4 separate regions of the Homo sapiens genome follow, and all the other regions are linked to region 3. The links are contacts of gene promoters, found by promoter capture Hi-C in human tissues and cell types (Jung and others, 2019). All regions are on one chromosome and are shown on one strand. The core of a region is centred on a gene start or on the middle of the fragment in contact, and the rest is flanking DNA. Distances in the headings are between cores, read along the strand shown. Region 1 has its middle 16 kb from the start of SLC52A3. Region 2 has its middle 34 kb from the start of PSMF1. Region 3 holds the start of ANGPT4 (angiopoietin 4). Region 4 holds the start of SLC52A3 (solute carrier family 52 member 3).

Region 1 (7,475 bases), core at 3,712-6,211, 130 kb before region 3:
AGGCAGGAGAATCGCTTGAACCCAGGAGGAGGAGGTTGTGGTGAGCCGAGACTGCACCATTGCACTCTGGCCTGGGCAACAAGAGCGAAACTCCGTCTAAAAATAAAATAAAATAAAGAAAAGTTTCTTTGACTTTGAAAAGCAAAACAAAGTATTAGCAATATTTTAAGCAAAATATCAAAAAGATCACTCCAGTCTCCTATTAGTTCAGTTCGTGCAGTTAATTCCTGTCCTGCTTGATATTAATGAACATTTTAGCTAAGAGTCCTAACCATTTTTCCTGTATTCTGATGTCACAATCTCCAAATTTATCAGAAACCTGCATTCAAGAACACCTGTTAGAGCTTTATAGCTGAGTATAAAACCCTTCTAAAGAGGATCAAAACAAGACAACAATTGTTTATGGATGACCAAAAGTTTTAGGGTAGCCATAGTTAAAGACACAATTGACAAGGAAATCTGTTACTTCTGTGGCACACAATAATTTTAACATAACAATTATAATTACTACTGATAACACACACTAAGACATATCAGAATTATAGGAGTCTCCCATAACTTTGGAACACATACCAATAACATATTTATACAAATATGGCCCAAAGAAAGCCAAACATTATTTTATATTTGACAATGCTTCCTGTATGACTTCATACCAAATAAGCCAAATTTTACCTTTATATTAGTGTGTTATTAATGTTAAACTCAATTTTAATGTTTTGATCATAAGGTCAGATTTTCATGGACCCTTTTTTTTTTTTGAGACAGAGTCTCGCTCTGTCGTGGGCGACAGAGTGCAGTGGAGCAATCTTGGCTCACTGCAACCTCCACCTCCTGGGTTCAAGCTATTCTTCTGCCTCAGCCTCCTGAGTAGCTGGGACTACAGGTGCCCACCACCATGCCTGGCTAATTTTTTGTGTTTTTAGTAGAGATGGGGTTTCACCGTGTTAGCCAGGATGGTCTTCATCTCCTGACCTCGTGATCCGCCTGCCTCGGCCTCCCAAAGTGCTGGGATTACAGGCGTGAGCCATTGCGGCTGGCCTATAGACCATTTTTAACCCTTTATAATTTTTGTCAAAGAGCAGGTTAGTGCTTTAAGAAAAACCCATTGTGCTTTTATTTTAATACTCAATTTACAGAAAAACTGGATGATACACCTTTAACTTTAGCCAAGATGTTTACACACAGTATTTCCTTTACAATTAACCTTCCAAAAGTTGCTTAAACCTTCATTTTTATTTTATTCAACTTAAAACAATTCTTTAACCTTTTAATCTAGGTAAAAATCCACATTCTCATGCCTCCTTATAATCTTTTTACCAAAAGTATATGTAAACTGTTTTTTCAATAGTCTTAAATACATGTTACACTGTTAACTTTTTTTTTTAAGGCCTACGTAACAAATAATTATTCTTGGCTGGGTGTGGTGGCTCACGCCTGTAGTCCCAGCACTTTGGGAGGCCGAGGCAGGTAGATCACCTGAGGTCAGGAGTTTGAGACAAGCCTTGCCAACATGGCAAAACCCTGTCTCTACAAAAATACAAAAATTAGCTGGGCGTGGTGGTGGGTGCTTGCAATCCCACCTACTCGGGAGGCTGAGGCAGGAGAATCACTTGAACCCGGGAGGCAGAGGTTGCGGTGAGCTTAGATTGCACCACTGCACTCCAGCCTGGGTGACAAGAGCGAGACTCCATCTTGGGGGGGAAAAAATGGGAAACTGGAGAGAGAAAATTACATTTCAGAAACTATAACACACCTGTTATTAAATTCCAGTGTTGCCTAATGTTGTTCAATTTTTATTACTTTAAATTAAATTCTAATTTTTCTGACTACGAGTTTCCAAAATAAGCTTTGTTTTCTTAAAGCCCTATGAACTGAAAACTAGACGTTTCAGCAGGCACTGCCTCTAAACGCCCCCCAGCCATCACAGGAGGAAACCTCTTCACTGCTGGAGCTGACAACTAATAACTGAGCGTGCCTGGAATCCTTTGCCCCCACATCTAATAAGTCCATGGAACCCAGGGTAATTGAGATGGCATCTCTTACAAGAATCAACTTCTGGGTCAGGTGCGGTGGCTCACGCCTGTAATCCCAACACTTTGGGAGGCCAAGGTGAGTGGATCACTTGAGGTCAGGAGTCTGAGACCAGCCTGGCCAACATGGTGAAACCCCATCTCTACCAAAAATATAAAAAAGTTAGCTGGGCATGGTGGTGCATGCCTGTAATCCCAGTTATTCGGGAGGCTGAGGCATGATAATCACTTGAACCCAGGAGGTGGAAGTTGTGGTGAGCCGAGATCGCGCCATTGCACTCCAGACTGGCGACAGAGCGAGACTCCATCTTAAAAAACGAAACAAAACAAAAAAACAGGAATCAACATCTGGATACATTACACTCGAGTCAAAGCCTGGAAAGCTGAGGAAGCAACCCCTGATAGCCAAAGGAACATCCTAAATATCAGTGTAAAGAAATAGGAAATTTTAAGCTCATAAAAGGTAAGTAACTGAGTGAGAACTACTTATCTTACTCAGTCTCACCCCTACCTCACCAAATACTTTTAGATGTTCCTACCTCTCCTTTTAAGACAAATATTAAAACTTTTTAATGGAAATTATTCACTACACCACCATTGTGGGAACTGCTTTACACACTCTATTATTTGCAGTGGGACTATGTACTACAGCACCCTCAGGATGGAATATCAGACAGAGAATCTCAATTATGGTACCATTTTGCTTAATTATTATCCTCATAGCAGGAATAACAGTTACTAACAGCAAATAACACATGGGCCTTTCCAGACATGTGCCTCTGCCTGTCATTGGGTGAGGAATGTTGTTTCTATATCAACCAATTAGGCCTAGTAAGAGGTGCTGTTGAAAAACTTAAGGAAAGGGCTATACCAAAACAACCAAATAGATTCTTGGTTTAGGAACAAAATCATAGCATGGGTCATCCCATTCCTGGGACCTTTCCTAATAATATGCCTAGGACTAATGTTCTTACCCTGCCTAATTAACCTTTTTCAAAGATTTTTAACTGACAGGATCATGGCCATTTCACAGACAACTACCCAAAAACATCCACAGACAGCGTTACTGCTACAGTTAATCCAAGACCAGAAAACTCTGTCCCCTCATCAGCAGGAAGTAGCCAGAAAGAACACCCTGCCTTTCATCCTTTTTATAACTATAAGGTCTGGATTGACAGAGCAGGAGCATTGCCATCTTGGACAAGCACTGCCATTCTAAAGTTCCCCTTGATCAAAAACCACCTAAATCCAAAGGGCATCAGCCTAATGGCTAAGGTCAGCATGACCATAAACCACAAATGACATCTCTGACCAGAAACATTCCAACCATAAGTTAAAGCCCTCCCCGACCAGAGACGTGCCAGCCCCAAGATAACCTCCCCTCCAGGTGGAGAGATGTCAGCCCCAAGATACCGTCCCTTCCAACCAGAGACATTCCAACCCTCAATAGACTTCTCCCCTACACAGGAACATTCCAAGCCTGTGATAAGCTCTCTTACCCAGAAACCAGTAAATACCCTTAGTATGTAAGAGAGAGCATTCCTGACTGAAATTGGACAGAGGCCCCTCTCAGGTTTATTCTTCAAAATAAACCTGTCTTTGACTGTTGAGCCTCTTTTCATGTTTCTTTCCTCTTTCTTGAACTCTTACAACACCTTTGTTAGGCGCAAATTTTCAGTGCTGCAAAAGAAATAGCACTCGAACATAAATTTAATTTTCTCAGCAAGGCAATTTTACTTCTATAGAAGGGTGTGACTTGTGGATGGAACAATGGTGAGAGCACACCTGAACAAGGGAGGGGAAGGGGTTTTTATTCCTGATGCAGGTAGCCCCTACTGCTGTGTGGTTCCCCTGTTGACTAGGATTGGACCACACAGTCTAAGCTAATTCCGATTGGCTGTTTTAAAGAGAGCAGGGGTACGAGTCGGAGTAGCGGAGTGAGTAGTTTGGCGGGAAGGACAGTTAGGAACAGGTGACTAAAGGTGACTCAGGTCAGTGCAGGTGACCAGGGGTGACTCAAGAAGGAGCAGGTGATCAGGGGAATAGATGTGAACTACTGATTAGAACTGGTGGAAAAGGTTGTTTACTGAAACTAGGGGCAAGGAGGCAAAGAGAATGAGAAAGTTAAACTTTAAAATGGAGAACAAAGAACAGGGGACCTGAATATACTCATACATTGGTTCCTTGGAGAGGATCTCAGAACTCATTGTACTTAACAATTTACAGGCTGAAACATTTGAAAAGGAATTTGTTATATCCTACAATTTCCCCCTTTCAATTTTCATAGTACTTCCTCTTCAAACTTTTTAAACATGTCTTGGCTTAGCTGCTCGACTTAATCCTCTAAAAGAAAAAGCTTATCTGAATAAGGTGGAGGTGAGTTAAGGAAGATTTTAGTAAGTGCTGCTTTTATAAGTCTTTGCACTAGCCCACAGATGCATGGTATGACATAACACCTAACAAGAATGAGTACAGCTATTACGGCTGCAAGAGAAGTAAGAATTGAGGCTGTGATTTCTTTCCATTTACTGAACCCCCTTTCTAGCCACCCTGAGAAAGGGTTATCGACTCCAGAATTTTAGCTAGTTCATTGGATAGAGTGGTAAGTCTTTATAAGGCCCTTGTTATGTTCCCAGTGTGGGCAGTGTTATTTGGGATAAAGGTACAACACTGAGTTTTAATCATAATACAAACACCACTTTTTCTGCTAATATCATATCTGGTGCCATTCTGTTTTCCCAGGCCATCTGGCTAGTGGGCCCCAATTGTTCTGCTATCCCTTTGACAGCATCCCTGGTGTAATTAATAAACTGCTGCTGATTATAATAGATGTAATTTATCCAGTCTACATTTTTATTAATCGTCACCCATGAAAATATTGACTTAAATCCTGCAGCTATTTGATCTCGGGCTTTAAATTCATCTGGTACTCCTAGTGGAACTCCAGTAATGTTTATATAAACATGGGGGTCAAACGACTCATGTAAGGCACTTCTTTTACAATTTTCTTTTTTATCATGTTGACGGAATGCTAGAGTGAAAGGGATGGCCAATTGGACTAGAGCACGAGTGCTGCTCTAATTGCTTGGCAGAGTATCCAGCAATAGTGCCCCTCAATGCCACCACACACCTGCTCAGGGATGAACAAGGGCAGACTGATGGGTAAGCTCTTGAAAAGGCTTGGTTTCACCGCACCCTGTTAAGTCTCCAAGGAATGCTAACTTTTCCCCCTGCCGTGAAAGGGACAGGTGAACTTAACATCAGGGGCTGGAGGCTGGATGGCCCTCCGGGCTGACCCACAGGGCTCTTGACCTCGGGGAAGAGCAGTGAAAGCGAACAGCAGTGAAAGAGTTTTGCCTGACTCATTGCCCCGGCTGTGGGGTTCTGGAAGAGAGCTACCATACAGCTCATGCCCTGTCCATGAGAGGACCACTCGAGGGGAAAGGGGACAATTTGGGTCTCTGGCCTGCCTGTCGCACAAGCAGTCACTTTTGTTTAGCATGCGAACAGAATATTTAATCCATTTCAGCCAAGCATTTACATCCTGGTACTCTGTTTCAATTGCTATAGTTTGTTTTAAATCTATAACTTCTACAACAGCTACTTTGGTTTTATCATTGGGTATATAACGAAAGAAGATCTGGTTAGTGGAGAACTTAGGAGTGGGAGAAGGGGGTGCAGGAGTTGAGGAGGCAATGAAGCACATTTCAAAGGATCCTCTGGGGTCCTTCCCTGAGACTTCTGCTCCTATACCATAGAAACGGTACTCTGGGGAGCAGAGGTGGTAATCTGTACTGGATTACATTGGTTCATCTGACAATGGGGTGGTCCATCCTTGCTCCTTGGTAGTCCATAAGCCATTAGACCAGCTAAAAGTTCTGTTCTAGGAGGGCAAGATTCCTAGTTCATACTGGGACCATCATCAATATCTTCCCAGACTAACTGATCCCAGTTAACAGATTTTCAGTCTGAGGAGAGCCAGGAAGGACAAAGATACTTTTCTGAAGGGGAGAGTTGCCTCTGGTTTGGCAGATCTCCACAGGTCATCCCAAGGCAAGCATCAAAAGTAATAGTTTGGGGCGAACTTGTTACATAAAGAACGAGAAGACTAGCAATAGAAGGGGAAAAGAAAGAGATGGAATGTAAGAGGATCAAACCCGTTTTAGCTTTAGCTTGGTTGGAGTTGGCCCTGGAATAGCTGTCCATGATTCTGGAGGGGGTGGTGCTCTTTTGACCTAGGTGTGATGAGTCCATCCTCTTTCTGCTGTTTGAACTGTGGTCTCGGTGGTTAGAAGCAACAGGTAGGGTCCTTCCCAAGCCAGTTCGAGTTTCCCTTCCCTCCAACTTTTGACAAGGACACAGTCCTTAAGCTGATGTTGGTGTACTGGAAACTGTAGGGGTGGTACCTGTTCTAAAAGACCTTTAGTTCTGAGGGAAGAGAAAGTGGAAAATAAACCAAGTATATAATTTCTGAGAAACTCATCTTTTGTTTTGAACATAGGAATGTCAGCAGTGGAGTGTAAACAGGGCAACCTACACAACATTTCATAAGGGGATAAGCCAACATCTCTCTGAGGAGCAGTTCAGACTCTCAAGAGGGCAATGGGAGAGCATCTATCCATGGCAACCGAGTCTCTAAGACTAATTTGGTTAGGTGGCCTTTTTTTTTTTTTTTTTTTTTTTTTTGAGAGGGAGTCTCGCTCTGTCGCCCAGGCTGGAGTGCAATGGTGCCATCTGAGCTCACTGCAACCTCCACCTCCCGGGTTCAAGTGATTCTTCTGCCTCAGCCTCCCTAGTAGCTGGGACTACAGGCACGCGCCACCATGCCTGGCTAATTTTTGTATTTTTAGTAGAGATGGGGTTTCACCATATTGGCCAGGCTGGTCTCGAACTCCTGACCTCGTGATCCACCCGCCTTGGCCTCCCAAAGGGCTTTTTTTTTTTTTTTTTGACAGGGTCTCTCTCCGTAGCCCAGGCTGGAGCGCAGTGGCGCGATCTCGGCTCACTGCAAGCACCGCCTCCCGGGTTCACGCCATTCTCCTGCCAAAGGGCTTTTTTAAAAAATAGTTTGGTTCATTCTTTCCACTCTTCTTGATGAAGGTAGGTGCCAGGGAGTATGATATTCCCATGTTATATCCAGTATCTGGGCTAATTTCTTAATGACATGTACAGTGAAATGAGTCTTATTATCTGAATCAATGTTTTCTATTAATCTAAACTTGAGTATAAGATTTTCAACTAATGCCCTGTCTATGTTATTATCAGTTGTACTTGAAAAGGAAATAGCTTCTATCCAATGAGTAAGGTGATCTACTATACTAATAAATACTTCAGATGATCAGTTGGAGGCATCTCTGTGTAGTCAGTCTGGATACTTTGGAATGGCCTTAAGCCTGGACTCCTTCCCCCAAGGGGTAATGTTTTACTAAACAACTGTCTGTA
Region 2 (6,877 bases), core at 545-3,044, 170 kb after region 3:
CCCAAAACACATCTTCGCCATGGCTGAGTCATCCTCTTCCTCAGGGACCCAAAGCCCCAACCATGGTCCCTTCTTCTTCCTCTCTAGGAGGACATTTTTTTAAGTCCTTGCACCTAAAGGGCTGATCTCACTCTTTTTCTAGGTGCCATAGACTCAATGTGTCCATCCAAAATTCATATGTTGAAACCTAATCTCCAATGTGATGGTGTGTGGAAATGAGCCCTTTGGGAGATAAAGCCCTTATAAATGGGGTTAGTGCCCTTATGAAAGAGGTCCCAGGGAGATCTCTTGTCCCTTCTGCCATGTGAGGACACAGTAAGAAGACTATGAACAAGGAAGAAGGCCCTCACCAGACACCAAATCTGCCAGTGCCTTAATCTTGGGCTTCCAACCTCTAGAACTATGAGAAATAAATTTCTATTATTTATTTATAAGATAGCCAGTCTATGGTAGTTTGTTCAAGCAACATGAACAGACTAAGACACCAGGCAATCTGTCATAAGTGCCTCTGATGGGCCCAAGTGTTCCCAAGTTGGAAATACCTTCCTTACGCATCACTGTCTCAGAGGTGATCCCTAGAAGAGTGCACAGGAAAGAATATGCAAGGGAAACAAGGATAGCCAATGCACTTTTATGTAATACACACAATGACCCTGTGAAGCAATTATTCCAGTTTAAGAGATGAAAAAACTGAGTTTCACGGAAAATCCAAAACTTGCCAGGGACACCCAGGAAAATGGGTGGTTTCATACTAGGTGGAACTGGGGAATTGGCTTCAAAGTGCAAGTGAGCAGGACAAGAGAAGACCAGCTTGCTTAGACTGGAGGAGGTAGGTTAGGCAGAAGTGAGGTAGGCCAGGTGGGACCAAACGCTAAAGAGCCCTGCAAGTGCCACAAAGTGTCATGAACTTAATGAGTCAGGCAGTAGGGAACCATTCAAGGTTCTCGAGCTGAGGGATAACTTCACTAATTATGGCCAATGATGATGCAAGCAATTTCTTACAGAGTGCTTTATTTTGCAGATCTCCTTTTCCATGCGTTTCCTCATTTGTTTCCCACCTGTGTGGTTAGGCTCCCCATTTGCCATATGAGCAAAGTAAGAGTCCCAGAAGTTACAATATGACAAAATTACTACTAGCAAAGCCAACACAGGATGCAAGCCTCCTCCCTCCACACCCCAGTGAAGGGCAGTGGGGACTGCACGATACAGTGGGCATCTGCCATTCATTCTGGCCACCTAGCATCATTCTCCTTCAGCCCTTCGTTCCCTTTAGGGAACTCTCCCCCTACCTCTCCAAATGATTTTAATGGGGCTGTCAATCATGTGGTCCTATGCAAGAGTGAGCACCAGGCCAGGCTGACCAATTAGAGTCCTTCTCAGGGATTGACATGGATGCTCGGGGAAAGACAGTCTCAGGTTTTCTCTAGGGTTGCCAATGGCAATGAACCTCTGACAACTATCCTTTTGTCATATGGGGAATATCTGCTTGAGAATGACGTGAACAAACAAGACACCCAAGCTGAGAGATAAAGGTAGGAAGAGTGCACCTAGGACACCAATAAGATCCTACAGATTCAGCCATGTCTGGGTTTCTCAGTTTTGAAAAACACTTTGATTGGTTTTGTCACACGCACCTGAATCAGCCCTTGGACCTAAGCTTTATTTAGAAGTAAAATGGACTTGGGCTCTCTGTAAACCACAATTTCTTCATTTATCAAATAATAATAATCGGCTGGGCATGGTGGCTCACTCCTGTAATCCCAGCACTTTGGGAGCCCTAGGTGGGCAGATCATTTGAGGTCAGGATTTCAAGACCAGCTTAGGCAACATGGTGAAACCCCATCTCTACTAAAAATACAAAACTTAGCTGGGCATGGTGGTGCGTGCCTGTAGTCCCAGCTACTCAGGAGGCTGAGGCACAAGAATCACTTGAACCCAGGAGGCAGAGGCTGCAGTGAGCCGAGATCACGCCACTGCACTCTGGCCTGGGTGACAGAGTGAGACCCTGTCTCAAAAAAAAAAAAAAGAAAAAAATGAGAGAATAATCAAAATAGCAACTTAGCAACTTAGAGAGTTTCTGGAGAATTAAATATACTTCATAAACTGTGAGGTACCAAGAAAAGAAAAGAAAACTGTATTGAGGGACATGAAGGCCTAAGTAAATGGTGAAATATGGCAAATTCATGGATGAGATGTCTCAATATTATAAATATGATCATTTTCTTCGCTATTTAATTTACAATATAATCCAATTTTAGACAAAACTAAATTAATGAACAATGCAAATTAGGCAGTATTTTAAAACAGGGTGGCTATTTTCAAAATGACAGTGTTAATATTTTTAAGTTGAGGTGCCATTATGCTGAGATAGCTCCAGTGCTTTGGGTTCCTATGTAAGCAAATCAAAGCCTAATGTAAACCGTAAAATGATCCTGGAGACTTAGCTAATTTGAAACCGCCAACTAACCTCTAGGGACTTTCCACCAGATCGTGCCCAAATAAGGCAAACACCTACTTGTAGCCAGTCAAGCAATGTCTTTGCTTTGCTTCCACATTCACCCTATAAAAGCCTGCAGCTCAACTGCTAAAGTGGAGCTCTCTGAACCTCTTCTAGCTCTGAGTACTGCCCAATTCATGAATCACTTTTTTGCCCAAATAAACTCTGCTAAATTTAATTTGTCTAAAGTTTTTCTTTTAACAACAGAATGGACCGTATTTTTAGTTCCCAAAGCTCTCTCTTGCTCCCTATAAGAGAATTATACTTCCTGTGCCATTGACATCAGGCCTGGACATGTGACTTACTTTGGCCAATGATATATGACCTGAGTGAGGTAATGCCACTTCTAAGCAGAAGCCTTAAGAGCCACCACGTTTCCACTGTGGCTTTTCTCTGCCTTCCACCAGAATAGTGTATTCCAAATAGGGTTGTTTTATCAGCTGGGTCCCAGGAAGAAGAGGATTTGGCCAGAGCTGCAGCCAGTCCTGAGTGTAAGGTGAATAAGAAATAAATATTTGTTGTTGTAAGCCAGGGAGATTTGACGGTTATTAGTTATGCCAGCATAACTTAGGGAAACTGACTAACACAGAAGTATAACCTAATGAATTGACAAAATGCTGCCATTTTTATGCTTCATTAAAACATAAATGAAAACTTTTTGTAAAATAGTACCTAGATGCTTTACATTGGTTTCTCATTGTTCTGCTAAACATGAGCATTCCCAAAAATGTTTACAATAATTTATATTTTTAAAAAAGCATTTTGTGAGCAAAACAAGCTTGGGGAAATGCTGCAGGTCACTGTCTTTCTCATGAGATTCATCCCTCATATTAGCATATTAAAGTCTCTGCAAAGTCCTACAGTAAAGAAACCTTTACTAACTCAGTATTTCTTGAAGTTATTTGGTGATGAACCTCAGCCCACCAATTAACATGTCATGAGAGATGAGGATACAGGTTTTTCTCAAAATGAGTATTTTTCTCTCAGCTATCATGGATTTAGCACTAGGTGCATGTATTATTTAAATCCTATAATGACCCCTCTGAGAGAGGCATCATCAGTTCCCATTTTATATCTGAGAGAAAATAAAGGCTAGGAGAGAGAAATTGACTTGCTCAGAAAAACCACAGCAAAAATATAAATGAATGAATAAATGAATGATGGAGCCAGGACTTGAATCACAAGTCTGGCAATAAAGACCAAGCTCTTAACCTACCTTCCTCTTGCCTCCAAAATCAACTCCTGGATTCTGGAGCTAATGATGAAAGCCCTTCATCAGTTGAAACCACAGTACCTACCCAATCCAATCCTCTCCATTTTACTCCACACCACACCTCCTCATTTTCCACTTACCATCTTTTTGGCCATTTGTTTCTCACTAAGGGCATTCCTTCCTGCCACCATCCTAACACATCTTTTCCATCCTTAAGCTTTAAGTCTTAACTTATGATCCCTCGTCCAAGAAGCCTCCCTTGATTACTTTTCCCCCAGCAAACTTTCTCTGATATTACGTGTATAGATAGTGGAGCAGAACATTTCCCTGAGATGCAAATTTTCAGATACCCTCTCAGACCTACTAAATCAGAAACTCTGGAGATAGGAATCAGAAATCTGGACTTTAACAAGCCCCCCACGTAAGACAATGATGTACTTCAAGTTTAAGAACCATGTTGGTCTAAGCCAACCATGTTGGTTCCTTTCCCTGACTAGCAATTAGCTTAGTAAGAGACATTGGACCAAGTTCTGGACAGAGATGTGAGAGGAATAGGCAAGAAAGGGGCATATGGGGGAATTTCCTCACTCTAATAAGAGACATACTGAAAAAGGCTATACCCATTAAGGTGTTTTTTATTTCAAGCAGTAAAAAATCTAGCTAACATAGGCTTAAATAAATAGAAATTTTATCCTTCTCATTTTCAAAAAATCTAGAGGTTGACAGTGACTGTGATGCTAGTCATCACAGGCTCAGCAATGTCTGTGATTTTCTTGGCCTCTCCTTCTGAATACAGGATGGCTGCCACAGTTCAGGCATCACATCATATTCCAGGCAGGAGGAGGAGGTAGGGAAGGCTGCTGCAAGCAATGTCTGTTTCTCTTATCAGGAAAGTAGAGGCTTCCACTCATTTCTCATTGGCTGGAATTGGCCATGTGGCCACTTCTGGCAGTAAAGTGGATATTCAACTTTTCCAGCCTCCTTAATGAAGACAGGCAAGGAAGGGTTAGGGCTGATATGGGGCAAGCATATCCAAAGCGTCTTCCTCACTGAGATCAGTTCTAGCTTCTCGTAGCTAAAAAGCTTCCTGACAGGAAGTGTTACCGGTTTCTTTCTCAGTAGTTGGGGGGAATTAATAAAATAGTGTATGATTTAGGCCCAGGGTGGTCTCAAAAACGAGATAAGGATTCACCACGATTGGTATGAACTTCTCCAGCATGACTCTCCACTTCTCTTATCTGTCTTTATGTTTTCTACAGAATCATTCATCTGAGAATATCAGGGACATGGGCCCTTAGAATTCACCAACAGAGTGAGCAAGGGAGAATGGTTCTGGTTCTGAAGTGAGAGAGACCCAGGGTTAACTTTTGGTCTGTCACTTCTACCTCTCTGAGCCTCAATTTCCTCTTCTGTAAAATGGGGTTAATGAAAGCCCGCATCTCCCCCAGGGCAGATATGAGGATGAAATAAAGTTCACCATATAAAGCAATGAGCTCAGTGCCTAGTACTAAGATAGGTGCTCAGTGAACCGGTACCTATTACTGTCATTTCTCTCACTATTTTAGCACAAACCTCTTTTTGTGCAGCCGAGGAGGTTGCTGTTATGATGTCAGGCCACTGAAAATTAGTAGGCAGGTTTCTTATTACGCCTCCTTAGGGGTTGCTTTAACAAAAGCAAAACTAAATTCTCATTAGCACATCACTCATTTCCATGTACATGAGCATCATCATAGGCATGAAAATGGCACCCTTGAGAGGAGGGGGAAGAAGATGCCTCCCCCTTCAGCCCCTTTATCAGAAGATCAAGCCCAGTGTGGGGAGGGGAGGTCAGTGGTCGTTCCTCCTATTCCAGGACAGAGGTGGCCAGCATTCCTAGCTGCCCTCTGCACTTCCTGACATTTGTGGTTTAATCAAGCCCCATTAATCCCTCCCTGTTTCAAAGCTCAGCACAGGAACCACAAACTCCCACAGCCTCTGACAGGAATCATGTGGCTAAAGCCAAGGGGAACTCTTTGAAAGGTAATTAGCATCTTTGAATTCAGGGCCCTTTGATTTTGCTTCCTGGCTTTAAACGATCACAGAACATTTTGCAGAAAAGGGGGAAAACATAAAGGCAGCAGCTACAGCCCCTTACACTGGGCCTTCTGCAGCCTTTCAAGTTGTGATGTGGCCTGAGAGAGGAAACTTGCAAATATGATTAAGTGTGGGTGAGTTGTTGAGTTGTACCAGGGGCCATGCATTCATTCATTCATTCATTCATTCACTCAGTCTCACAAGGCACCATGCTAAACACTGGATGTACAGTTTTCATTGATCATTCATTCAATCAATCATTCATTTACTAATATCCCTGGATCAAACACTGAGCTAAGCTCCAGGGCTATAAGTTTATTGTTTAATGGGAGAGGCAGACAAGAATTAAATAAATAAAAACAATTGCTGTTAAGAATAAAGTACCAAGAACTAAATAAACTGAGTATTCATCCAGCGAGGAGAAAGAGATCATCTTTACAATAGGTACTTAGGGAAGGCCACTCTGAGGAGGGAACAGTGCCTGTAGGCACCATGATACATAGAAGCCAGTTATTTAATACAGGGCATAAGGGGATCATATGTCAATAGAGGTTTGTACTGTTGCCATGTTTGGGAGGATTAAGGAAAGCCGCAGAGAGCAGATGTAGGAGTAAGTGTAAGCCAGTTAATGCTGTTGTTACAACCCTGAAGTCTGAAACCACAGAGGTAGATATTTTGCTCAACACACGTGTCGTGGTTTGGCTGTGGCTCTGCTCACACCATCATCGTCATCCTTACTCCAGGGCCCAGTTGCTGAGGCCTAAAGAAGAGAGAATTCTCAAGGGTTTCAAACCTGCTGTTAAATGCTCCAGCCTGGAAGAGACATGTGTTACTTGTACCCACAACTCATTGACCAGCTCTTATCACATAACCTCAATCCAACTACAGGGGGGCCAATAAGCAGTATCCTACACTGTGTCTGGGAGATACAGACATGTTTGGTGAAGAGCCACCTCACTGTGGACTGAGCTTTGCAGCAGAGAAGCAGGACATGTGAATTGCAGACAGAGGAAATAGAATGTGCACAGACACAGAGGGATAAAATAGTTTGGAGTGTTCGGGTAGCTAGAGTACTGGCAGGGCTTAAAATGGAG
Region 3 (7,044 bases), core at 978-3,477:
TGCTACAGACATTTATTGAGTACCTACTGTGTGTTCGGCACTATTCTAGGCCCTGGGAACCCAGAAGTGAGCAAAAGAGACATGGCGCCTGCCCTCTGGGAGCTCACACACCAAAAGAAATGTTTTTAAGAACATTAGGTAGGGATAAGTTCTAAGAAAAAAAAACACAACAAAGCCAGCAGAGGGACAAAGGGTGGAAGAGGAAGGTGGTTATTTCGTACGGGGAGGACAAGGAGGGCCTCTGGGGAGATGGCGCTGGAGAGGATAGGAGGCTGGGGTAAGCAAAGTGGGAGTCTGGGAGAGGGAACTCCAGGGAGTAAGGGTTCTTGCTTTTATTCGGATGCATGGTTAGCCCTGGGAGGAGGGAGAGGATGTAACTTAGGTTTTGATGGGGATTCTTTGGTCTGCTGCATGGAGAACAGGAGGTGGGGGCCGAGTGTTAGCAGGGAGCCAGGGGGGCAGCCAGGACAGCTATCCTGCCTGGAGCCAGAGGTGGTTGTCAAGCTTGTCTGCTGTTTAATACCTTCTAAAACTCCAGGAATTAGTTCGCATCCTTCATTCCTCAGTCATCGCCCAGACTGTCTCCTGGGTCCCTCTCCCTTTCCTTGGTAGCTCTCACTTAGGGACTCTGAAGAGTCCCATCTCAGACCCCCCAGGATGTCTCCTGTACCCTCATGCCCCGCCAGGGCCAAGCCTGCTTTGCACACCTCTGTAGTCAGTGCTTCTCCGAGGGTACACAATAGGTGCTCACACTGCTGAAAGACGAAAGCATGACAGGGCATTCTACAGCAGCCCTGGTCTTGGGCCAAAACCACAGTGGCATCCTCAGCTCCTTGCTTCCTCCCACTCCGCATCCAATTCACCAGCAGAGCTGATGGGCTCTACCTCCAGAACCCACCAGAATCTTACTGGCCACACCCCCTCCTAGCCCCGTTCTGCTCCAGGCCTCCGGTACCTTGCACCTGATGGCTGCAGCGGCCACCTCTTTGGGCTTCTTCCTTCCACCCTGCCTCCTACAGTCTATGCTGTTGAAATCGAATCACGGGTGTCTGTCTCTGCTCACAACCTTGCAGTGGCTCCCATGACACTCAGAACAAAAGCTGAAGTCCTTCCAGTGGCCCCCCCCCCAGCTGCATGGCCTGCCCTGCTGTCACCTCTCAGACCTCCCCGCACCCTTGCTCCCTCTCCTCTGCTCCAGCTACACAGGCCTTCGCCCCATGGTTCTCCAGGCACACACCGCTGCGGATGCATTCCCTCCTCACGGTCAAAATACATGCAGCTCCCTTTGCAGAACGTTCCCTCAAATACCTGCCTGGCCCACTCTATCATTTCCCTTGTTCTCTGGGTTCAAATGTCACCTCCTCTGAGAAGTACTCTCTAATGATCTGACCTCAAGCAGCCACCCAGGGCCGCCACTTGCCCTCTTTCTTCTTCATTTTGCTTCACCATCTGACATAGTAGATTATCTCTTACTGCCTCTTTCCCCTACTAGTCCAGAGGGAGACATACTATACTGTCGTATCCCCAGCACCCAGGAAGGCTTGGTCCGTTCAGCCCTTGGTCAGGGCTGAATGGATTTCTGTTGGATGAATGAAGGGACGGCAGTTAAAGAGCCAGGTTGCCAGCTGACATTGCCCAATCTTGCTGTGTGGCCTCAGACCCACCCCTGCCCCTCTTTGTGCAGCTCAGAGACAGCCCTCTGTGCTCAGGGAAGGCCTCTTGGATGGACACTCCACCTGCTGATTGTGACAGACCCCAAAGCCGCCCTCTGCCCCCTGCAAACCTCCCATGCCCCGTACCTTCTTCAGCCACTGCGTGTTGTTCTGCAGTGCCTGCTCCAGCTGTTTCACCTGCTGGGTGGGCAACTTCCCCAGGTGCAGTGGGTTGGCCAGTGATTCTCTCTGGAGGGTGTTGGAGTCCCTGGAGACCTCAGGCCCCGGAGGGCAGGGCTCAGACTTGGGCAGCAAGAAGGTGTAGCTACAGTGGCCGTGCTGGACTACAAGTGTCTCGCAGCCCCTATCCGCCTCCTGCCTTGTCTGTTGAGCCACAGACATGGTGGCAACCACAAGGAGGAGGCTGCCCTGCAGCATGGCTAGCTGGGAGAGCATCTGAAGATGTGTCAATGGCGAGGGATGTCTGCTCAGAGCCCTAGGGGCTGTGCCTGGGATGTCCTGCTGCAGCCAACAGTGGCCAGGCTTGCCTGCAGCTGCAGCTACAAACCTCTGTCTGGCCGAGCTCTGTCCAGGCAGCTATTTATACTTGCTCTGAATACCACGGCTGCTCTGCTTGCTTCCTCTCACCGCCTCCCTCCGGCCCCACCCGACACCCTCTCACCTCTATTCTTCACTCCTTCCCTTCCTCCTTCCTCAGTCTTGGTGGCACGTCGCCCTTACCCTAAGCGTGCACCAACCTTGCTCTGTCTGCCTCACCTCTGAGCCCTCTGATTATCCAGTGAGGCCTGGCTTCCCTGCTGGAGGGGAGGGAAGAAAACAGCACACAGACACGCGCACACACTCATGCACACACTCACGAGCACACACTCACACGCACGCTGACACGCACACACATTCATGTACACACAAACGCCAAGCTCCAATGCTGCCCGCTTTGGAAAACCAAATGCAACTTAACTCTCCCTTCCTGTCTCTGTCTTGGTCTCCCTCTTTCCCTCCACCCCCATCCCCTGCCCCCCAAGTCTAAGATCTCAAGTTTCAGTCCCGCTGCCATCCCCTTCTCTCCCCGCTGCACCTTCCTCCCTCTGGTTCCATGTTAGCGCTTGGAGTACAAGTGACCCCCGGAGAGAGCAGAGGGAGGGGAGGAGGCAGAGGGGTGAGGCTGGGGAGGGCCCAGCGAATCCACTTTGCCTCTGGAGACACAGAAAATCCTTCCAAGGTGGGGCAAGTGAGCAACCCAGCTGGGAGTTGCTTCCTGTCCTCTCTTCTCCCTCAGGGCCAGGGGAAAGTGGTATGCCCCAGGATGGCCCTGGCTTGGTTGCTTGTAACAGTAATGAGAAGTTGTCATGTCCTGGGGCAGATTGTCCTGGGGCTGCTGGAGTGGGGATGTGGAGAGGAGGCAGTGGGGAGAGGAGGTTGGAGTGCCAGGAGGCTAACCCTAGATCTCGCTCCCCGACAGCTGGCCACGAGACCTAGGGTGGGCAGCTGTGCCTCTCTGGGCCTCCACACCCTGATCTGTAAACTGGGTAAACCTTATCTCTTGCAGGAGGAATGCGTGTGAGTCCTCAGCATGGGGATGGAGAAGTTTTCAGCTTCTGGGTTCAAATCCTGGCTCTACCATCTACCAGCTGTATGACTTTGAGTAAGTCACTTAACCTCTCTGTGCCTTCATTTCCTCCTGAATGAGGAAAATAATACCACCTACTTCACATGGCATGAAAATTAGGTGAGTTAGAGCAAGGTTGGCACAGAGCGAGCACTAAATAAATATTTTCCGTTGTCAATGTTATAGTTGTCATTGCACCTCCCCTCCCACGACCCACTGGAGCATAAACTCCTCTAGGGCAGGGATTTGTCCCTGGGGGACATGGTCTCCAGGCAGAAGGTGCCCAGGAGTTGGTGGGGCCTTTCCTGCATGGGCTGCCTTTATGTTCTGCCAGCTGTTTGGGCTTTTCCTCTCTCCCTGCTTGTTTCCTCAGAGTAGGGGCCAGTCTGGCTGTTTAGTATTTTCCTTTTTGTTCTCTCAAATCCCGATAGAGTTTTGAATTGGGGCAGGCTGCTTCTGGGCAGCTGTGAACTGTGGTCTCATCTGGGGACTGAGAACATTATACCAGGTGTGGGGCTTTTGCAGGCAAAGGAAAAGCAGCTGGTTATCAGCCTCCAGCCTCCCCTGAGCCTTCCCACATGCTCTGAGCTCTGCGTGCCCCGCTTGGCCCCAGTTGCCTCAGCTGTAAATGGGGTCATAGCACCCTGACCATGTGAGAGTAATGTGGACTGATAGCTTATCACAGCTCTGGGTGCAGAGAAGGGCAGTGTGAATGGTGGTCGTCATTATGATTGTCTTGACTGAGCTGCTTGATAATCCCAACGAGGCAGTTACACCAGGCCCCAAGCTTAGATGGGCCCCATGCTTGGTTTACACTCTGCCAGCACTGTCTTGAAATTCTTAATACATTTGGAACAAAGTACTCAGCACTTGCATTCTTCATTGAGTTCCACAAATTAGGTAGCAGGCCCTGCCTGGGAAACATGAGGCTTCCCTCATCCCTCACTCTGCTCCTGACCTTACCATCCAATCAGACCTGTTCTTCCAACATGATCCTTTAGATATTTCCCCCTCTGTCACCTCTTCACTACTCAGAATGCTGGAGCCAGCACATCTGGATCGGAATCTTGGCTTTCCTGACCCCCTATTTGTGTGCCTTTTGCCAAGTTGCCTAACCTGTCTCTCAGTTTCCTCTTCTGTCAAAATAGTGATGTTACAGTGGCTAAAAGACCGATTCCTGCAGTGAGGTTAACACAGAGCCTTTCACATAATACATGCTCAACCAGTGACAGCTGTCATCATTACTCCCTGCTATGATATGAATGTTTGTGTGCCCCCAAATTGATCTATTGAAACTTAGTCAACAAGGTGATGGTATTAGAAGGTGGGGCCTTTGGGAGTGAATAGCTCGTGAGGACTCTGCCTTGGGAATGAGATTAACGCTCCTATCAAACATGTCCTAGACAGCTGGCCTTCCCTTTTGCTAGGTGACGTTGCAGTAAGAAAGCACCGTCTATGAAGCAGGGAGCTCTCACCAGACACCAGATCGGCTGGTGCCTTGATCTTGGAATTCCCAGCCTCCAGAACTGTGAGAAATAAGTTTCTGTTGTTTATAAGCCCCCCAGCTTAGTGCATTTTGTTATAGCAACCTGAATGGGCTAAGACACCCCACCATCACTCTCTTAGACCGGGGTGCTTCCTCTCTTGTAGGGAGAACAACAGCCTCAGAAGTGAACTCTGGTTAATTGGCCTTTGCTATTGCAACCAGAGTGACCTTCCTTCCTTCCTTCCTTCCTTTTTTCTTTCTTTCTTTCCTTCTTCTCTTTCTTTCTTTCTTTCTCCTTTTTTTTGACAGAGTCTTGCTCTGTTGTCCAGGCTATAGTGCAGTGGCATGATCTTGGCTCACTGCAACCTCCATCTCCCCGGTTCGCGTGATTCTCCTGCCTCAGCTTCCCCAGTAGCTGGGATTACAGGCATACGCCACCATGCCCAACTAATTTTTGTATTTTTAGTAGAGACGGTGTTTCACTATGTTGCCCAGGCTGGTCTCAAACTCCTGACCTCAGGTGATCCACGCACCTCGGCCTCCCAAAGTTCTAGGATTGCAGGTGTGAGTCACCATGCCCAGCCCAGAGTGATTTTTCTAAGACACAATCCAGCCCTGACTTCTTTGTTTAAAATTCTTCAGTTTTGAACTCCAACTCTTTCTGTGGTTTACAAGCCCCTGCCGGATGTGGCCTCCATTCTCATCACTGTTTCCCTGGCACTTTATACCTTATCATTTGGAATTGGTTTTACTCCCCCGCATGCTTTCCGCCTTCTGAGGCCTCAGTGTCTATGCTCCTAGCAGGAAACTTCTGCTTAAAAACTTCCCCCCACCTGTATTGTCCCAGCTTCGTTCTGCCTGTCTTTTGATCTTATCTCAGGGATCACCTCCTCTGGGAAGGCTTTCTGCATCTGTCCCTCCCACTTCAATGGGAGTAGGCCTTCTGCCTCTGGGAGCTCAAAGGCCCCTGCCTGCCTGTCCCTCACCAAAGCACTCATCCTGCATTAGAAAGGCTTGTTTGCAGGCCTTGGTCACCGTCTAGACTGAACACTCTTCTAGGTTTGCTGTCACACTTTCCATTTCTGTGTTTGTTGCCTGTCCTAAGGTTAGGCTCACAGTGGGTCCTCATGAGTGTTATGTTGAATGAATAGGAGCTGCAGGCCCAAAGCAGAGAGGAAGGCAGTCCCCTTTCCTCTCCAGCAGGGGCAGCAGGAAGTTCTGTGTGAGTTGTTCTGAGTGTCTGGCCTCCAAATCCTAAAAACAAACCAACCCATGTTGATTTTCCCATTGTCTGCTGCTACCATGGAGGTAGAGAACGGAGAATAAACTTATATCCACCTGGATACTTTGGCTTTTGTTCAAATAGCTTGGGTAAAAAGGGAATTTATTGGCCAATTTAACTGAAAATTTTAGGGGTATCGAGCTTCAGGCATGGCTGGATCCAGGTGCTCAAATGATATTAGATTTTTTTTTTTTCCTCCAACTCCAGGCTCTTATTTTCCTTCATTTCCTTATTTTCCTTTGGGTTCATTCTGTAAGAGTTCCCACCATAATCACCACCACTACTGGCAACAGCAGCTCCAATCTATCAACTCAGTAACCTCTTTTAAGAGTGCCTCTTTCCTAATAGTTCTTGGAAAAGTTCCAGCTTGAGCCGTACAGTCATTCCTGAACCAACTATTATAGCCAGAGGAAGGAGCTACTGTGGATGGTCAGGCTGGATCCTGTGTCCAGGCCTGGAGCCTTGGAGCAGGTCAACCTCACAGGATCGGAAGGGACTAAGGGTGGGGTACAGTGACGCTCAAGAAAACCTGGAGTAGAATGATCAGGAGGCGGGTGGAGTTGTTGGGCATAAAGCACCTGCCTGCCTGCACCCTGACTCTCCATCCCGCCACCCACCAAGTGAACCCACCTCCCGCTCAGAGCTGATGGACTCTTGGAGTAACTAGAGATGCCATGGACCCTTACCTTGCATTTCACTCATGAGGAAACTGATACTCAGAGAGGGAGGCCACTTGCCCAGTGTTACATGCTGGAATCTATTTTCCTGGAAGAACAGAACTTCCTGCTCCTAGGAGTGAAGGGTGGGAAAACAGGGTCATTCCGGGAGGACCACTTGCCAATTTGGGGTCCTGAAGTACCTGGATCCAAAAGAAGAAGACTGTCCCCAGTCTGAATCTCCCACTCTGGGGAGAGGGTCACTCCTGGGTTGTTCCCACAATCCAGCCCTTCTGCCAGCCCCTCCCTTGGCAACTCCTTGCATTTCAACACCCTGGATG
Region 4 (6,904 bases), core at 1,156-3,655, 150 kb before region 3:
CCAGCTAATTTTGTATTTTTAGTGGAAACAGGGTTTCCCCACGTTGGTCAGGCTGGTCTCGAACTCCTGGCCTCAGGTGATCCGCCTGCCTCGGCCTCCCAAAGTGCTGGGATTACAGTGTGAGCCACCACGCCTGGCCCAAGCTGTCTTTTTATTAGCAGAAAACAAGAGAAGCCTTTCCTAACCGTGATTCATGAAAGAAAAGTTCAATCCGACACACAAAAGCAAACAAAGCAGCTTCTGCAAAAGATACCAACAGCAAGGTCAAAAGTTAAATGAAAACACGGGGAAAACATTTGCCACATAAATCACAGACAAAGGGCTCATCTTCCTTGTCAGGCCTCTGAGCCCAAGCCTGCGCGTGTACATCCAGATGGCCTGAAGTAACTGAAGAATCACAAAAGAAGTGAAAATGGCCGGTTCCTGCCTTAACTGATGATATTACCTTGTGAAATTCCTTCTCCTGGCTCAGAAGCTCCCCTACTGAGCACCTTGTGACCCCCACCCCTGCCCGCCAGGGAACAACCCCCTTTGACTGTAATTTTCCACTACCTACCCAAATCCTATAAAACTGCCCCACCCCTATCTCCCTTCGCTGACTCTCTTTTCGGACTCAGCCCGCCTGCACCCAGGTGAAATAAACAGCCTTGTTGCTCACACAAAGCCTGTTTGATGGTCTCTTCACATGGACGCGCGTGACATTCCTAATATATAAAGAGTTTTTAAAAATCAAGAACAAAGAGACCCCATATAGAAGAGGGCCAAGGATATGAACAATTCAGAGAAAAAGGTACAAATAAGCTTTAAACACATGAAAATATTATCACCTTCATTCACAATAGGAAAACTACTCCAGGTGCCATTTCTCACCATGAGATTGTCCCAAAGCCTGACAAAATGACTCATGTTCAAGGTTATTATAGATTGCGATCTTGTTGGTAATAGCAAGTTATGGGAAATTTTCTCCTGGGTGGCTACCAACAGAGAGGGGGCTAATTAAAGGGACCTGCTGGAATACCACATACCTGTTTAAAGGAATAAGAAATAAGGAAAGCAGATCTTGGTGACTGATAAGGAAAGGTCTCCAGGCTATAATAATAATCTTGAAACAAAATCAAGGCAGGTAAATGGAACCAGGAAAAAGTGTACTGCCTTTTGGTCATAGAAGAGGAGGAAAAACATGTTTTCTTTGCTTGTACTTGCACAAAGCAACCCTTGAAGGACACACAGGGACTGCAGGGATGTTGGTGATGCCTCTGTATATCTTTTTTTTTTTTCTTGTGACAGAGTCTTACTCTGTCACCAGGCTGGAGTGAAGTGGCACAATCTCAGCTCACTGCAACCTCTACCTCCCGGGTTCAAGTGATTCTCCTGCCTCAGCCTCCCAAGTAGCTGGGACTACAGGCGCCCACCACTACGCCCAGCTAATTTTTTGTATTTTTATTAGAGATGGGGTTTCTCCGTGTTAGCCAGGATGGTCTCAATCTCCTGATCTTGTGATCCACCCTCCTCAGCCTCCCAAAGTGCTGGGATTACAGGCATGAGCCACCGCTCCTGGCCCTGCCTCTGTATATCTTTTAATAAGAGTTTTGATTTGTGAACCATGTAAACATATTACCTGATGCAAATATATGGTTACCTGAAATAAGATTTCAATCTGGCTTTTTTTCCTCCTGAAATTATATCACTCTCTACGTGGCCTTTGGAGACCACTTCCTCTAGCCCTCCAGAGCCATTCTGCCATCTGTTTACCCCTTTGTCAGCTACCAGTGGCAGCCCACCTGTGCTGTTACTAACAACTTTCTTCTATCTATCCTTAGTCTGAGCAGTAATATGGGAGATGCCAGGAGTGAGGCTCTGGAGCCAGCTGTTTGAGTTTGACCCTGGCTCTGCTGCTTACAATCTGGGTGACCCTGGGCAAGTGGCTTTGCCTCTCTCTGCCTCATCTCCTCATCTGTAAGTAGGGGATAGTGATAGTATGAACTCCGTGGTTTGTTGTGAGATATAAGGATGCTGGTGAGTTTATGCTGTTTCCAACAGTCCCAGCATAGGGTAAGCACCTCTAAGGGTTACTGATCATTATCGTGAAATGGCAGGTTTGGTGACATCGTTATTTTTGTCTAATTCACATGAGAATTAATACATGACTATGAAAATTTAAAAAAGGAAAAGATTCCCCTACTAGGTATCAAGTGAACTCACCAGTGGTATATGCACCTTTTTGTAGAGACACGCTAACTGGGCCAATCTTCACGTTTTGTAGATGGGAGACGAGGTCCGAAGGGGCAGAGGGGCTCTCCTGGGATCTGGACTGGATCCTCTGCAGCAAGCGGCCTGTCCGGGACTCCTCAGTTCACGCTGCAGTCTTTAACTCCATACTTCTTCCTTCTAGTACAAAGCAGGAGTGTCCGTTGTGGCCACGCCTCACCCAGGAAACTCCTGAATCCTGGCAGCTCCTCCCCACGGTTCCCACACACGGAATTCCCTCACAGGGCTGGGACTTCCTTCCTCATACCTTCACTGAGCGAACCCAATGCTCAGTGGCCTTTCTGGTCACCTCCTTTTCCTCTCTGGGAGGAGCCACTCCTGGGGTGTAACGCAGTCAGATCCCCTAGCAGTCCCGCTCTGCCCCCTCCCTTCTGGGGGCCTCAGACTCCATTCCCTCCCTTAGGAAGCTGACTTGACTAATAGCACAGGTGAGGCCCACTCCAGGCGTGCCAAGAGGACCCAAGGAGGGAGGGGAAGCTCCCAGACAGCAGTGGCACACCTTTGCCTGTGCTGTCCTCCCAGCCTGGAGCACCAGCCCCCTCTGCTGTCCACATCCAAGCTTTCTACAAGACTCCGTCCTCCAGGAGACCTCTGGCTGCCTCACCTTCTCAGGCGTCCTCACCAGGGCCCATGACCCCTTCATTTCAGGTTGTTCTTGTGTGGGTGCATGCAGGCACATACCTTGAGACTGAAGCTTTTTGAGGGCAGGGGCTGCTTGGGAATCTGACATTTTGAAGGTGGAAGGGCCTTTCTCAATGACTTAGCTTAGGATTTGTAAATTGTTAACTCACTGGCCACTGCCAGACAGCAGATATATTACTTTGGTTTGCCCAGTGTGTTTAACAATTTGTTACTGTAATCAGCAGTGGAGGGGATGGCAAGCAACCTTCAGCATTTCTGGCTTCTCAGGAATATTTTGGAAGAAGTGGCCCCCCACTTTGGCCTCTTTCTCTGTTCTAGACTCGGGCCATCTTGGAGCTCTCCCCTGCGGTAACATCTGGAACCAGTTGCCTGGGTTCAAATCCCAGCTTCAACCCTTACAAGCTGAGCAAGTGACCTAACCTCCTGTGCTTCAGAGTCTTCTCTTGCAAAACAGCTATAGGCTGTCAGTACCAACATCAGAACTGTTGCTAGGAACATGCACTAAAGTGCTAAAACTGTGCCTGCCACATAGTGAGGGCTCAATGAACCATCATTATAAGATTACTATTTCAGCAAACGTATCAGTTGCATTCAAAAACATGTAGTTATTGGCCAGGCGCGGTGGCTCACGTCTGTAATCCTAGCACTTTGGGAGGATGAGGCGGGCGGATCCCTTGAGGTCATGAGTCCGAGACTGGCCTGGCCAACATGGCAAAACCCCGTCTCTACTAAAAATACAAAAATTAGCCCAGCATGGTGGCGCACACCTGTAATCCCAGCTACTCAGGAGGCTGAGGCCGGAGAACGGCTCCAACCTGGGAGGTGGAGGTTGCAGTGAGCCGAGATCATGCCACTGCACTCCAGCCTGGGCAACAGAGCGAGACTCCATCTTAAAAAAGAAAAAATAAAAAAAAGGCGCAGTTTTTGTTAGACAAATGGCCACTCAACTAAAGGACTACATTTCCCAGCCTTCTTTGTAGCTGCACATGGCCATGTCATCAAGCACAGGCCAATGAATTCAAATGCGACTTTGAGTAGTCTCCTTAGCCCGTTTCCTGTTTAGAAAAAAAAGTGCAGCTCGTTGCCAGCACTCATTTAATTTTATGTAAACGTGCTATTTGAGGCTGAAGCAAATCTGATTCTGACTGCTGTTTTTTTTTTTTTTCTTTTGAGACAGAGTCTTACTGTGTAGCCCAGGCTGGACTACAGTGGCTTGATCTCGGCTCACAGCAACCTCCGCCTCCCGAGTTCAAGCAGTTCTCGTGCCTCAGTCTCCTTAGTAGCTGGGATTACAGGCGTGCACCACAATGTCCGGCTAATTTTTTATATTTCTTAGTAGAGACGGGGTTTCTCCATGTTGCCAGGCTGGTCTCGAACTCCTGGGTTCAAGTGATCCCCACGCCTCAGCCTCCCAGAGTGCTGGGATTGCAGGCGTGAGCCACCAAGCCCAGCCCTAAATCTGACTGATTTTCAATGTGAAAATAACATGTAAAAACTGTTTTTGAAGTTATTTCTAACCAGAACTAACATCAGACTCATCTATTTCAGAAAAACTGGATTCATCAAACGAATCTTTGGTCAACAACTGTTCAAGAACAATGTTAACATCACACATAGGAATGCTAGGATTTGCTATTTTCAGCGATCGAGAATTACTTTGTTTTGTAAATGGAAATACCACGACTAAAACCAGAATGCTACAAATAGAGTGATGTCTTTTGTTTCCAAAGTCAATATACTAGAGCAAGGCAAAAATAATAATAAAAGCGAGGTATTTTGTGGCAAAGTTATCTTGGGGTAAACACTGCAGTCACAAGTGGGTATTCCTTCTGGCAAACAGGGAAAGAGTTAACAATAAGGGAGTGTGCCCTTCTGCTCTTCCTCCATTTGGCTGTCTGGAATCAGATGTGATGGCCAGAACTCCAGCAACGATTTTGTGCTATGAGGCATGTGGTGGGGGTTAGATGCATACTAGGCTCCTTTGGGATTTTGTGGCAGAGAGCACCCATACCAGCCCTGTTTTGCCTGTGTTGAACTGTTTTGTTTGTTTGTTTAATGTTGTTGTTAAATTGTAAAAGAAACTTCTATGTTGTTTAAGTCACTCTTATTTTATGTACAACAAAAGTACTCAGAGGCTGGGTGCAGTGGCTCACTCGTATAATTCCAGCACTTTGGGAGGCTGATGTTGGCAGATCACTTGAGGTCAGGAGTTCAAGACCAGCCTCCAACTGGTCAACATGGTAAAACCCTGTCTTTACCAAAAACACAAAAAATTAGCCAGGTATGGTGGTGGGCACCTGTAATTCTAGCTACTCGGGAGGCTGAAGCAGGAGAATTGCTTGAACTCGGGATGTGGAGGTTGTAGTGAGCCAAGAGCACGCCAGTGCACTCTAGCCTCGGCGACAAAGCAAGACTCTTGTCTCAAAAAACTAAAAGAAACAAACAGACAAAAACTACTCCATACTAAGTGCACAGAGATACACATTCCAGGATATATATTGAAAGATTATAGTAACCAAAAACTAATGAATACATTTATCTCCTTTACCACCTACTTTCTGACTCTGAAACTTAGGTCCTGTCCCAACCAGGATTTGATCAAAAATCAAAATTTAACAAAAGTAGTTGTTTAGACCCTTGGGGGCAAATGTCTTGCAGAGATATGAAAAAAAAAAAAAAAAGGAGAAGAGAGAAAGAGGGAGGAACAGAGGAACACAGAACCCTCCATATAGCATTTGGTACCAAAAGTATAAATTGAGACCAAGAGTCATTTCATATATCAAAACTCTAATTCATAAAGGAGTCAAAATTGTAGTGACTATCTGTATTCTGAATATTTCCTGAAATAGCCTCAGACATTCCAGGAGAAATGGACAGAAGCACAGTCCAGCAGTACAGGCCTGACTCACCCTTCCAGGTCAAGACAGCAGACGAAGGTGCAAAATAAACAAGGATATAGCAAAAGCAATAAATGATATACCTAGTAAAGAGGGCTAAGTCAGTAGTTAAGGGGAGTAGGCGAATTTGCAGATGATGGTGACCTTTGCCATATGAAAAGCTATTAAACTAATGAGAGTGTCCAGTTAAACATTTACAAACATCAGTAGCTTTCCCACAGAGGGCTGGATGGGGAGATGAGGGCAGACAGGGCAGAAGTAGCCTCACTTTCTTGTATGTTCGACAACTCCTAAGCTCTGAACGCCTAAATCCCTGCTCCCCACAAAGACGAATTCTCTGGTTTTGACCCAGGTGCTACCACGGCTGTGTCACTTGAGGGATGGGATTTGGCTCCGGGGGTCTGTTTCCTTGTCTGGAAACCAGGCACAGTGGGGGTGTGTCCCCACGTGACCCATCTGCCCTATGGCCCTGGCCCACTCCCAAATTATCTCCTTCCTCAAAAGTGAGGTGTGCTTTTGGACCTCGGGGACACAGTGAGGAACAGTCATTAATGTCAATGAAGGGGATGTCTTAGGCAGAGGGAACTACATGTGCAAAAAGGCCCCAGAGAAAAGGAGAGACTCAGAATGGCTGGTGTTCGGAATGTGTTGGGATACTTTTAAAAGATGCATATCTGTATTTTCTGTTTTTTTTTTTTTTGTTGTTGTTGTTTGTTTGTTTATTTTACAGTGACCTTGCAGTTCTTATTTATTCATTTTAACCAGTATTTCTTGGGCACCAACTGTGTGCTCAACCACAATCCCTGCTCTCAGGAAGTTGGAGGAAGCATTCACGAAGCAGAATAAAAAACAGAAACATAGAGCAGGTCAGATGGTGGCAAGGACTCCGGAGGAAAGCAAAGCTCCTGAATGGGGAATGTGCCGCTGTCAAGGAGAGGACATGAAGGGAGTGTGGGAGTGAGCTGTCTGCAGAAAGCACGGTCCAGGGGAGAAAACAGCAAGTGAAAAGGCCCTGGGGTGCGGCCACACCTGCTCTGTCCCAGAAGTGGATTTTGCTGTTCAAAGGACAGCTAGGAGGCCAGTGTGGCCGCAGCAGC

The links. Contacts are between HindIII fragments. The study calls those that stand out against the background at their distance.
Region 1: a fragment that was not itself captured here is called in contact with the fragment with the promoter of ANGPT4 in region 3 in 2 of the 25 tissues and cell types used here (adrenal gland and lymphoblastoid cells).
Region 2: a fragment that was not itself captured here is called in contact with the fragment with the promoter of ANGPT4 in region 3 in 3 of the 25 tissues and cell types used here (IMR-90 fibroblasts, lymphoblastoid cells and mesenchymal stem cells).
Region 4: a contact is called between the fragment with the promoter of SLC52A3 here and the fragment with the promoter of ANGPT4 in region 3, in 2 of the 25 tissues and cell types used here (H1 embryonic stem cells and mesenchymal stem cells).

What each region holds. Positions count from the first base shown.
Region 1 is chr20:780,547-788,021 of GRCh38, forward strand. No RefSeq gene overlaps it. Among named protein-coding and RNA genes, the nearest start is that of SLC52A3, 16 kb to the left of the region's middle. The HindIII fragment of the contact is 3,684 bases long and covers 3,120-6,803 here.
Region 2 is chr20:1,081,079-1,087,955 of GRCh38, forward strand. No RefSeq gene overlaps it. Among named protein-coding and RNA genes, the nearest start is that of PSMF1, 34 kb to the right of the region's middle. RefSeq lists a silencer at 5,233-5,332 and an enhancer at 5,513-6,014. The HindIII fragment of the contact is 3,614 bases long and covers 1-3,601 here.
Region 3 is chr20:914,107-921,150 of GRCh38, forward strand. It overlaps ANGPT4 (angiopoietin 4), which reads right to left and starts at 2,228. Exons shown (of 9, transcript NM_015985.4): 1 at 1,800-2,228. The coding sequence starts at 2,108. LOC105372492 (a long non-coding RNA gene) reads left to right here. Exons shown (of 3, transcript XR_937185.3): 2 at 3,220-3,315. The HindIII fragment of the contact is 12,950 bases long and covers 1-7,044 here.
Region 4 is chr20:766,095-772,998 of GRCh38, forward strand. It overlaps SLC52A3 (solute carrier family 52 member 3), which reads right to left and starts at 2,406. Exons shown (of 5, transcript NM_033409.4): 1 at 2,203-2,406. RefSeq lists an enhancer at 2,581-3,080. The HindIII fragment of the contact is 8,066 bases long and covers 1-6,790 here.